2 separate regions of the Homo sapiens genome follow, and region 2 is linked to region 1. The links are contacts of gene promoters, found by promoter capture Hi-C in blood cells and fetal thymus (Javierre and others, 2016). All regions are on one chromosome and are shown on one strand. The core of a region is centred on a gene start or on the middle of the fragment in contact, and the rest is flanking DNA. Distances in the headings are between cores, read along the strand shown. Region 1 holds the start of TIMP4 (TIMP metallopeptidase inhibitor 4). Region 2 has its middle 27 kb from the start of TSEN2.

Region 1 (5,520 bases), core at 1,927-4,426:
ACCTCCCTGAAGGCAGGGAACATGTTTCCTCATTTCCCCTGCTGTACCTCCATGCCTAGCAGCGGGCTAGACACACAGAGGGCAGGTGCTTAGGAAGGAGGTGCGATAATAGAGTTTGAAAGGGCCTGGTCTGCTAGACCTGGGAACTGCAGGGCTCAGTGGTGTGTCCTGCCTCTGCCTCTTCCATCCAGGAGCTCCTCAGTTCTGTACAATTCCACATCCTCAGAGCTAGGAAGCCCTTATCATTGTAGCCTCCAGTGCCTATGACTCATCAAGAGCCATGTCTGGACAGTGAACTCTTTTAAGGACTGTGCCTTGTTACTGAATCTCCACTCTCCTGGCCAAGGCATGGCAGTGACTAAGTGGTCATTCATTGCTGAATGTGTGGATAGATCGTGGAATCCCTTCACCTGTTCCCTCCCCCACTGCTGTGCTTTTTCTTTCCCTTGCTTTCTTTCTAAATATTGTTTTATGTTTTCAGGCCAGTTTAGATCCCACCTACACAATGAAGCTTCCCTGATAGTTCACAACTACCAAATAGTTCCGTTCTCTGAACTCCAAAATAATTTAATGTTGCATTCATTTATGGAGTCATATTTTTGTGTGATTCTTTAACTGTTCTATCCCAGCCAATTCAGTATGGAGGAATCCTGCCTGGGCCCAAGTTCACAGAGACAGAACTATGTTAGACTCAAGCTCCTGTTAAGTCCTGTGCAAAAGGCAGAGTTGACCTGCAAGGAGCAGTTTTAGAGAGGAGACTTCGACTCAAGTTGCCAAAAATCTTATACTAATTTAAACTATTTGAAAAACGGAAGCAGCTGCCCTACACTGGGTGAGCAGCCTGTCCTTAAAATAGTGAAACGGTGGCCAGGGTCACTGTACTAAGAACTCTTACATTTAAAGGGAGGTTACAAGGCTCCTCCTAACCCAGAGGTTGTCTGTCACTAACACAGCTCTGTTTTATGCCCAAGAAAATGCCACCTGGCTCAGCCTACTGCCCAAGGAAGACCCTGGCTCCTTTCTCACTACCTCCCCTAGGGCAGAATCTATTATATTAAGGCCAGTTGTTGGTCTTTTAACTTACCAGTCAAGAGATACTGCTTCTGGCTGTTGGCTTCTAGTTTCACACCACAGAGGGAAGAGTCAAAAGGCGTATAGATATACTGAACATCCTTGACTTTCTCAAACCCTTTGAACATCTGACAGGCAATTACAAAAAAAGGCAATATTGGGTCAGTGAGTGTACTGTATATATTAACAGACAAAAACCTCTCACTTCTCAGCCTAAAAATGTAAGCAAAAGTCTAGTTGAGGATTTTGTGTCCTCAGATGTCCCTACTGGGTTATTTTCTCTCTTAAAACAAAACAACAACAACAAAAAACACCTAAACCTTGGTTTATTCCAGTAGGTACCTGTAGTGGCACCATACACCAGCAGCTGTGGGACCAGATGGATGCTGAGGCCCTCCCTGGCAATATCCCTGGGATTCTATGGGCTCTGCCTCCAAATCTCATCCAGTTCCACTTCAGTATCTAGACCCAAGGATTACTGAGCCAGGCCACCTGAAAGCTACCAGCCCTCCCAGAACACAGACTCCACTTTCTCCATCAGCCTTAGGGGCTACACATCCCAGCCTGCCCCCATGTACCTTTATCTGTTTGATTTCATACCGGAGCATTTTTTCAGTGTCAGCAGGGTCTGCACTGGCCGGAACTACCTTCTCACTGGAGATTTTGGCCCGAATCACTGCATAGGAAGAGAAAAGAGGGAACCTTCAGCAGCTGGTGGGGGCAATACACCTGAGGTCTGGATGATCCAGGGTCCATGAAGAAGTCTATAGGGCAGTTCTTGGTTTTGGTGTGGCTGGGTTGTGAGCAACGTGATGTGTGAGAAGGGGGACCTGGAAACACCTCCCCTGCAGTCACTGGAAGTTCCAAACCCCTCAGGCTTATTAGGTCCTATAACCGCTAAGCTGTTTCTGCCTTTTGAACCAGTTAGTCTGGAGAGCTCTAGTTCTCCATAGCCGTTTGTGCAGTGGGGCACAGGGTAGGAGTCAGAGTAGAGAAGGGAGGAGGAGCCCCTTCAGGGCAGTCGGTGTGAAGTTTATCTATTGCTGTGGTCAAGGCCTCTCATCCCGCCTACAGTTGATATTAGTAAATGTTTATTGAATTCATAAATGTTCTGACCCTGCACTGAGGTATTGCATCTCTTGCCATTTGAGCATTAATAACCAAAAACTGTTGATGATGTTCTTCCTCTGTGCCTGGCCTTGCACTAGGCACTAGGCCCATAGATGTGATTAAGACAGGGTCCCCATCCTGCCGAGCTCTTGATCTAGTGGAGTGCACACGTGTAAAGAACAACAGCACAGCATAGTAGGAGCGCTAAGACGGTTAGAGATGCTGAGGCGGCACCAAGGAGCCCGGGAGCCTGCAGAGAAGGGGAGAGACCTAAGTTAGCCCTTGAAGGATGAGTAGGAGTCTGCCAGGAATTTAAGGGTGTGAGGGAGGGCATTCCAGGCAGAGGGAAGAGAAAGGACAGAACGTGTGTGTTGCCATAGGGGCTTGGTGGCAACCTCAGTTATAGGCCTGGACAGACACGGGTAGTTACAATGCAAGCCCTCTCCCCTCCCCTTTCTGTCCCCAGTCTAGTAGTTCAGAATAATCATCAGATAGCTCCGGTGACACCTTGTGTAATGACACTCCATAATTGCAGTATGGCCGGAGTGAGGGAGGTCGCTATGGAAGTCCCTGATGAAATCTTCATTTCCTTATGAATCAGTCAGGTTCTGGGCTTGCAAGGTTGCTATGGCGCCTGGTCCTTCTCCACCCATCAGCCTCAGCAAGAGACAACCGGTAAGAATTTGAGCTCCTCCCTTTTCCTCTGGACTCCTGGTGTACTGCTGGCCAGATACTAATCCCCCACAACCACCCCCTGCTGTGGACCTCGCGGACCTCGGACTCACCAAGTGCCGAGTGGCAGATGTGCTGCTGAGGGTGCGCCGGGGCGCAGCTGCATGCCTCACCCAGCCCCGGGGGCCGCAGCAACGCCAGCAGCCGCAGCAACAGCACCCAGCTTGGCGCGGGCCGAGGGCTCCCAGGCATGACACTGCAGATCCGCGACTGAGCCTGTGAGGTCTGGGGGACTGGACGGCCCCAGCAGGGCTCCTTCCCAAGGCCGTTGTGCCCCTCGCCCCAGGCTTTATGAGGTGGCCCTAAGGGCCAATCCCGCCCCGACGGGCTCCGCCTTCCTTTGGCTCTAGGCCACCCGCGGAGGCAGGACCCGAGGCTCTTCCGACCTGCATACTCAGTAAGATGCAGAGGGAAGCCTGGAAGGAGGCCCTGACCTCTGTTTCCCTGCCTAAGTCATGAAGCGATCTGGAAGCAGAGGGGAAGCACTGGGAGAGGGGATGGTGTCAAGGGCAGAAAGACGGAAAGAGCCACAAAGACAAATGCATGAGGACAGAAAAACTGAGGGCTGTGATTCAGGCAGAAAGAACAAGAGTGAGGAGAGGCACAGACAGAAAGAGTGAGACAGGCAGAGTCCCAGAGAGGCAGACAGAATTACAACAGGCAAAAGAGACAGTGACAGAGAAGGACGGACCCCTTGCTGAGCTGCACGCTGGGAATGAGACGAGCTACTCAGGGCTTCTTTCAGCTGCAGGAAGTGCTTTCAATGCCCTATTTATGAGGCTCCAAAGCAACAGCAAACAGTAATAGAACAGGACAGAGAAAGTTGGGGTGTGTGTGTCTTGGCTCTGTTGCCTGGGGGGTGGGGAGAGATGTCAAAGAAGCAGCCAGTGCTTTAGAAACCCTTTCTCACTCCCAGAGCCTCAGACTCTCCAGATAGCTGGAGACAGCGCTCTTGGTGTACAAAACACAAAGTGTCCCATCACTTAGGGCAAACCTTGGACCTCAAAGCCCTCTCGAGGCCCTAGACTACATTGATTTTTATTGCATGTCCCTTCTCACTGGAGACTCTGTCATGTTCTAGAAGGTGGGACAGCTTAGAAAACAAAGAAGCAGGCTGGGCGTGGTGGCTCACGCCTGTAATCTCAGCACTTTGGGAAGCCAAGGCGGGTTGATCACCTGAGGTCAGGAGTTCGAGATCACCCTAGCCATCATGATGAAACTCCGTCCCTACTAAAAATACAAAAGTTAGCCGGGCGTGGTGGCCTACACCTGTAGTCCCAGGTACTCAGGAGGCTGAGGCAAGAGAATGGCTTGAACCCAGGAGGCGGAGGTTGAAGTGAGCTGAGACTGTGCCACTGCACTCCAGTCTGGGCGACAGAGTGAGACTCCGTCTCAAAAAAAAAAAAAAAAAAAAAAAAGTAAAAGAAAAAACAAAGAAGCAGGGGACTTGGGGGTGACTGTGACCAGAGCCTTGTCTGCTGTTTGGGCACAGTGTTGCAAGCCTCCAAATCCCAAATCTCCATGGGATTATTGCTGTGGGATGTTTCCACATGGTGCTGGACTGGATAGTGGGAGGCTGGGTTCCAATTCTGACTGTCACTGTAGCTTTGTGACTTTTGCCTCTCTGGGCCTCAGTTTTTTCTTCATAAAGTAGAGTTGAACTACGTGATTTCTAAAGCCCTTTGAAGTTCTTCTTCCCATCCTTGGCTGGCCTCAACCAGGAATGCTGAGATCCTCAGGCCAGATACCCCCAGTATCTGTTCAAATCTTAGTTCCCATAGGAGTCTGACTTTTCATCAGGGTCAACATTATTTCCTTCAAAGGATACCTTTTCATTTTGATGGTGTTAGTGATATTTGAAAAGAAGGGAATTGAAAGAGAGCTGAGTCTGACTGAAAGATGAAATGCCCGGGTTAGCATCCAGGCTGGTTCTTCATACAATGTTCAGACCAAGATAGAGGCTGATGTACTATTTGAAGGGAGCTCAGAAAGCATCCCATCTGATCTCTTCATTGGACAGATGTGAAGGCTGAGGCCCAGTGAGATACAGTGACTTGTAGAAAGTCCGTGGCAGAAGAGGACTAGAGTACTCGTCTCCTGACATCTAGCCCAGTGCTCCTTCCACTCCACAATATTACTTCTTACATCACCATTTTGTAGCAGCTTGAAATCTTGCCCTTAGAGGATAATCCTTCTTTTAAGGTTTTGTTGCTCCTCTGTTAAAGTATGGCTACCTCAGTGTAGAGTTCGCTCCCCTAAGGATCTCTCTGCATTTATAAACATACTGAATTCTTCTACCGGCTCTCTTTCAAACCCCAAGCTGGGAAGAAATGGGCCTTCACATGCAAAGCCTTGTTTGGTGGTGAGATTGGGGTATTGGTGAGCAGTGAAGAGTGTGAAAGAGGGAGAAAACAACCAGGATCATTACAGGAAAGCTGGGCCTTTGAAGGTTGTAGGTACCAAGAGGGTACATGCTGACAGGGACATCAAGATGCCAAAGATGTGTTTTTAAAATAAAAATACAGGTTTATTAAAGTACATCTACATATAGTAAAGTTCACTCTTTCAGAGATACTTTCTTTTTTTAATTCTCTTTGTCTGAGGGCC
Region 2 (5,580 bases), core at 1,225-3,724, 300 kb after region 1:
GTTGAATGATGCACGAGAGGCTCCCCCCCATCCAGTTATGGGGTTCAGGGCTGTCTGCCTCACAAGGGTAGATACGGGCACTTTCACAAAAGTTTGATGCAAATGCTCACACTGAGAGGAAAAAGATTTTGATGAACAGGCTTTGAAATCTGGTCCCACCCTCCCTACCCAGCCGAACTTATTGCACACTGCAGGCACCTGTGCAGATGGTCCTCAACTCAACCCAGGCTCACTGTCACCTGCGAGACTCTACTTAGACCAGCTACCCACCCCAATGTCCTTCCTTCTTCTGTGTCCAGGAGGGGCTATGAGGGTAGGGAGGGAGCCATTCCTTACTCGCCCTTTCAAAAATGTTCCATTTATTTTTTTCTTTTCCATGTAATTCATCTTATTATAGAAAAAAACTATAGTCAAATAGAGAATGAAATTCTCTGTTAGTTTCAAGTGAATTCATTTCAGATATTCATTTCAAAATGAAAATAAGAAGTCAAGAACCCACTGCAAGCTGGCGACCGAGAGACAAGTGCCGTTAACATCTCTCAAGCTTTTTGTCCAAGTGCATACAGGCATTTACATAATTTGTAACCGAAATGCTGTTTGGAAACCTGCTTCATCCTCTTAAAAATTTTTGTGACAAAAATTATTCCTGTCCATTATATACAAAGTACAGACTTTGGACAACACAGACACAAATGCCACTACTAATATTTGGTGGTGATTTGTTTTTCAATCGACGTCTCTATGCCTTTATAACAGGGTACAAAATTGTTCCACTGAACAGTTGAAGATAAATGTATTTTTCTTCTAGATCAGTTAAGTCAGTTTTCAGAGTGGGGGCAATCTGCAAAGGTGCTGGAGGGGGTCTGCGGTGTTCCTTCTCTCATGGCTACGTCTGCAGTGCTTCCTGGGTGTTCTGTCCCTGAAGGTCAAGCCAGAGAGGGAGGAGGCCCTGACCGAGGTCCCCAGGCCATGGGCCTCCAAGCCGGCAGGTTCATCGGCGGCTCAGCTCCAGACCGCCTCCCAGGCCTCCACCAGTCTCCATGGACACAGCCCCCTGATTTCTATTCTGTCTAGCCCTTGAGCCCCTCTTCCTCCAGAATAGTCAGCTCCACCACCTCTGGGAGCACAGGATTTCAGGGGTATGACATTCTCTGGAGGAAAGTTGATTTTTCTTGGGCCTTGGCCTCTTTCTTGGGTCTCTCGTATGTTCACAAGAACAAGGCAGAAATTAATAGGCCAACGAATTATCCTGCCAAGAGCATACACCTACCCTAAACAAAAAGGCAATTGCAGCTTTTGTCACTGTTTTCTATTCCCCTTCTCAATATTTTCTGTCCTACTTCATTTAAGCTCTTCTCTTCGTCTTTCTTGGTTCACTTCCACGGTCATTCTGGCCTTCTATGGCCTCGCCCTCTTTTGAACTCTTAGGACCTTAGGTTTTCTGGAAGGGAGTAACTGGAGCCACTGGTGCCTGAGCTGGGATCAGGTGGCCTTTGGGCACGTGCCTTGAGCAAGGTGGGCTCAGGGCCTGCATCTGCCTTTGTGGTATCCAGGACAAAGCAGCTGGAGGCTTGGCAGGAATGCATCTCGACTGAGAGTCATGGAGTTGGACAGTGGACATCAGCCCCCCAAACCTTATCTCCAGCAGCACAACACGGAGGTTCCCCTTCTGTGGCTGCAGTGACTGGAAGCCCAAGACTGACAGCCATTTTTCTGGTTAGTGGCAGCAACACCTGTGCATGGTGGCCTGAGCCCAGGCAATACAGAGGTGGTGGGTCTCAGAGTATCTGGTCTTGGATTAAAGGCCACAGCCCCATGGCCCACCTTTAATCAAAGGTGAGGCAGGAGCACTGAGAAGGCCACTCTGTGTGGCCCACCGTCCACCTTCAGCTTCACCCACTTCATCTGGTTTCACTGGAGCATCATTCAAGCTATCCCCAATAGCCCAGGAGGACCCAGAGGGAGGGGCTGCACCTGTCACTGTTTTTGTTTGTGCTCATTGCATATTTATTCACGTTCATGATAAAATAAGTGGTTCCCTGCATTGGCAAGCAAAGCACCCAGACTATCAGTGACTTTTTCACTGCCAGCGCCGTCACTGTGAACTCTGAGGGTGGCTGTAGAGCAGCCTCCAGGCTATTGAACGAGTTTTCCTGACCATCCTGTGGTTCTTCTGTGTCTTTCTTTGCTGGAGATTGCCCCTCTCCTTGGTGTTGGGTTTTAGCAGTACTGCCCATTCCCCAAATTATCATCTGCTCTCTGGTGACTGAGTAATCACCGCATTAACACAAGACATTTATTTATTTCTAAATTCAGCAAGTGCCTAACACATAGTAGGTGTTCAATTCATCATGTTTGCTCTTTCATTCAGTCATGGAGCCTAAGGAAAGGGCCCAGGCCAGGCACAGTGGCTCATGCCTGTCATTGCAGCACTTTGGGAGGCCAAGGCAGGAGGGTTGCTTGAGTCCAGGAGTTCGAGATCAGCCTGGGCAACATAGTGAGATCTCATCTCTACAAAAAAATTTTTAAAATTAGCTGAGTGTGGTGGAACAGGTTTGTGGTCCTAGCTATTTGAAAGGCTGAGGCAGAAGGATTGCATGAGCCCAGGAGTTCAAGGTTACAGTGAGCTATAATTGCACCACTGCACTCCAGCCTGGGCAACAGAGTAAGATCTTGTCTCAAAAAAATAAATACATTGACTGGGCGTGGTGGCTCACACCCGTAATACCAGTACTTTGGGAGGCCAAGGCAGGCAGATCAAGGGAGGCCAACATGGTGAAACGCCATCTCTACTAAAAATACAAAAATTAACTGGGCGTGGTGGTGCATGCCCGTAATCCCAGCTACTTGGGAGGCTAAGGCAGGAGAATTGCTTGAACATGGAAGCGGAGGTTGCAGTGAGCTGAGATTGCGCCACTGCACCCCAGCCTGGGCAACAGAGCGAGACTCCATCTCAAAAAATAAATAAACAAATAAATAAATTTTAAAAAGGAAGGGGCCTAAAGAACACTCTTATTTTTCCTGTTGACTCCAAGTGTAACAGCCATCAGATCAGTCTTCCTAAAGAGCCCTCTGGTTGTGTCATTCCCTTGCTCAAACACCTTCAGTGGCTCCCTATGACCTACATGATAAAGTTAAAATGGCCCATCATTCAAGACCCTCACAATCTGACATCAGCCAGCCTTTCCAGCCTCTGCCCTTCCTACCCATGAGTTCCAGCTACACAGGGCCACAAAGCCTTGTTGAGCTGTCAACAGTGAATTCACCCTTCAATGCCAGATGCTCCCTGACTCCCTCCTTAGTTCTCCCATAGTCCTGTGATTCTGATCCTCATCACAGTCAAACTTAGATTATTGTAGGACTTTGTCCAACCACACCATAGCCTGGGAAGCTCTTGGAATTAGGGGTGTTATTTTACCTCTTGTAATCTCGATCCCCTGTAGTCAGGAGGAGCTTGGTAAGTAGCTACTCATCGAGCAGGCTCTCTAATCATTAGCACAGCCTAGCAAACTAGACAGTCCTTCAGAGTCATATTTACTTCATTGCAAACGCAGAGCTCTTTATAACGTGTCTAAATTATGTCTAATGTATGTGTGCTTAAAAAAAAAGTCACTCTGCTTCCTGGGAGCCACATTACCTAGACCTGATCCCACCTCTGGTCTCTTGTTTCTGATCTCTTGGTCTACCTCAGACTGTTACGTTTTTGGAACTCCTTACTTGGGCATATCACCCCCTTTCTCTGACCTTTAATTTCCTCTAATGTCAAGCAGGCATGATGGGCAGGTCTGACGAAGATAACACATACACAGCAGGTAACATTGGGCTAAGTCCTCTGCCTTCTTCCTGGGTGCGCTGCCCATCTCCATCAAGCTCAACTGCTTCACTGATGGCAGAGAGACGCTGCTGGGGAGGGCAGAAGGGTGGGGCCCTATCATTCTTGGGGATCCAGAAGCATAAAACCAGCTTCCATCCCATCAGGCGCCTCTGGGCCGGGGCGGGAAGGGAGCCAGGCTCCCCTGAGGCTGATGAAATGCGTCTGTTGGGGACCTGTTGGGAAATCCTGAAACTGGGAGGAAGGAACAGCCCTGCGGGGTCGGAGGCTACTTGAGCAAGTCCCCAGCAGTTGCTCCATTCGCCACACGGGGTGATGATGCCCAGGGTGGGGTATTTCACCAGGTTCTTAGAAAGCTGCCTCTGTACACCCATGTCTACTCAGGGCTTTGTTTAATCACTGTCTTTTCCACTTCCAGATTTCTGAGGACAAATAGGGAGAGGGTGATGTGGTGAAATGATCATTATTAGCCAACTTGCCCTGAATGCTTACTGCGTGCCACGCACTGTGCTACGTATGCATCTTACACCTGTGATCTCACACAATCCACACAGCAACCCCCGGGGCAGAGACTAAGCTTCCCACACTTGCCGATGAAGAAACTGAGGCCCAGACAGGTTAAACATTTTGCCCACAGCCACACAGCTTATAAATGGTAAAGCCATGATTGGAACCCCCACTGTGTGATTTGAGGACTCTTAACTCCACCTCAGAACTGCTTCCCATGAGTGGGAGGAAACTGGGCTTTGAAATCAGGTTGCTCTGGGGTGAATCTCAGCAACGCTATGGACCCACCGCTGTCCTCAGCAGGCCCCTTCTCCTCTCTGGCCCTCAGTTTCCCCATCTGTAGAAGAAGTGGTTTAGAATCGGTCACTGGTTCTCAAATTCTGTTCTTTTTTAAAAACTAGAATGTAGGCCAGGTGCAGTGGCTCATGCCTGTAATCCCAGCAGTTTGGGAGGCTGAGGTGGGTGGATCACTTGAGGCCAGGAGTTCAAGACCAGCTTAGGCAACATAGTGAGACCCTCGTCTCCACAAAATAGAAAAAAAATTAGCCGGTGTGGTGGTGCATGCCTGTAGTCCCAGCTATTCAGGAGGCTGAAGTGGGAGGATTACTTCAGCCTGGGAAGTCAAGGCTGCAATGAGACGTGATTGTGCCACTGCACTCTAGCCTAGGAGACAGAGTGAGACCCTGTATCAAATACATAACTAAAAACTAGAATGCTTCAAGCAAAGAGTGACTGCAGACGGGCATGAGAGAACTTTGTAGGGTGCTGGAAATGTTCTGAAACTGAATTGTGGTGATGGTTGCACAACTCCATATATTTTCTAAAAAAATCCTTGAGTTGTACACTTACAATGGGTGAATTTTATGGTATGTAAATTATACCTCAATAAAGCTGTAAAAAAAAAACAATGTTTTATGAAACATCAATATTCAACCCTCAGGACCCACCAGCAGGATTGTTTGAAAACCAGCAGGCCATGTGGGTTCTGGGCGGCCTTCAGACTCTGACCCTCTGGGATTCTGAGTTTATTTTTAGCACCAACTTGGTGCAAATTGCTAAGGATCTCATGTGGGCAGGGATTCTGTCCTCTACACTGTCAGCCCAGTTCCGGCAGAGCCTCTGGTTCATAATGGGTGCACACTGAGCATTTGGTGAATGAGTGAATGAAGGGCTGAAGGAAGAAGTGCCACGTTTTTTATAAGGGTAGACTTGGGCTTCTTGGAGCAGGGACTATGGTTCAT

The links. Contacts are between HindIII fragments. The CHiCAGO score rates a contact against its expected background, and 5 or more counts as called.
Region 2: a contact is called between a fragment that was not itself captured here and the fragment with the promoter of TIMP4 in region 1, in 6 of 17 cell types (monocytes, M1 macrophages, endothelial precursors and 3 more). The highest score is 7.3, in monocytes.

The regions. Positions count from the first base shown.
Region 1 is chr3:12,155,736-12,161,255 of GRCh38, forward strand. TIMP4 (TIMP metallopeptidase inhibitor 4) reads right to left here and starts at 3,177. Exons shown (of 5, transcript NM_003256.4): 1 at 2,967-3,177; 2 at 1,650-1,747; 3 at 1,085-1,199. The coding sequence starts at 3,105. All of the region lies in intron 5 of SYN2 (synapsin II), which reads left to right. The HindIII fragment of the contact is 8,121 bases long and covers 510-5,520 here.
Region 2 is chr3:12,454,983-12,460,562 of GRCh38, forward strand. No RefSeq gene overlaps it. Among named protein-coding and RNA genes, the nearest start is that of TSEN2, 27 kb to the right of the region's middle. The HindIII fragment of the contact is 3,865 bases long and covers 543-4,407 here.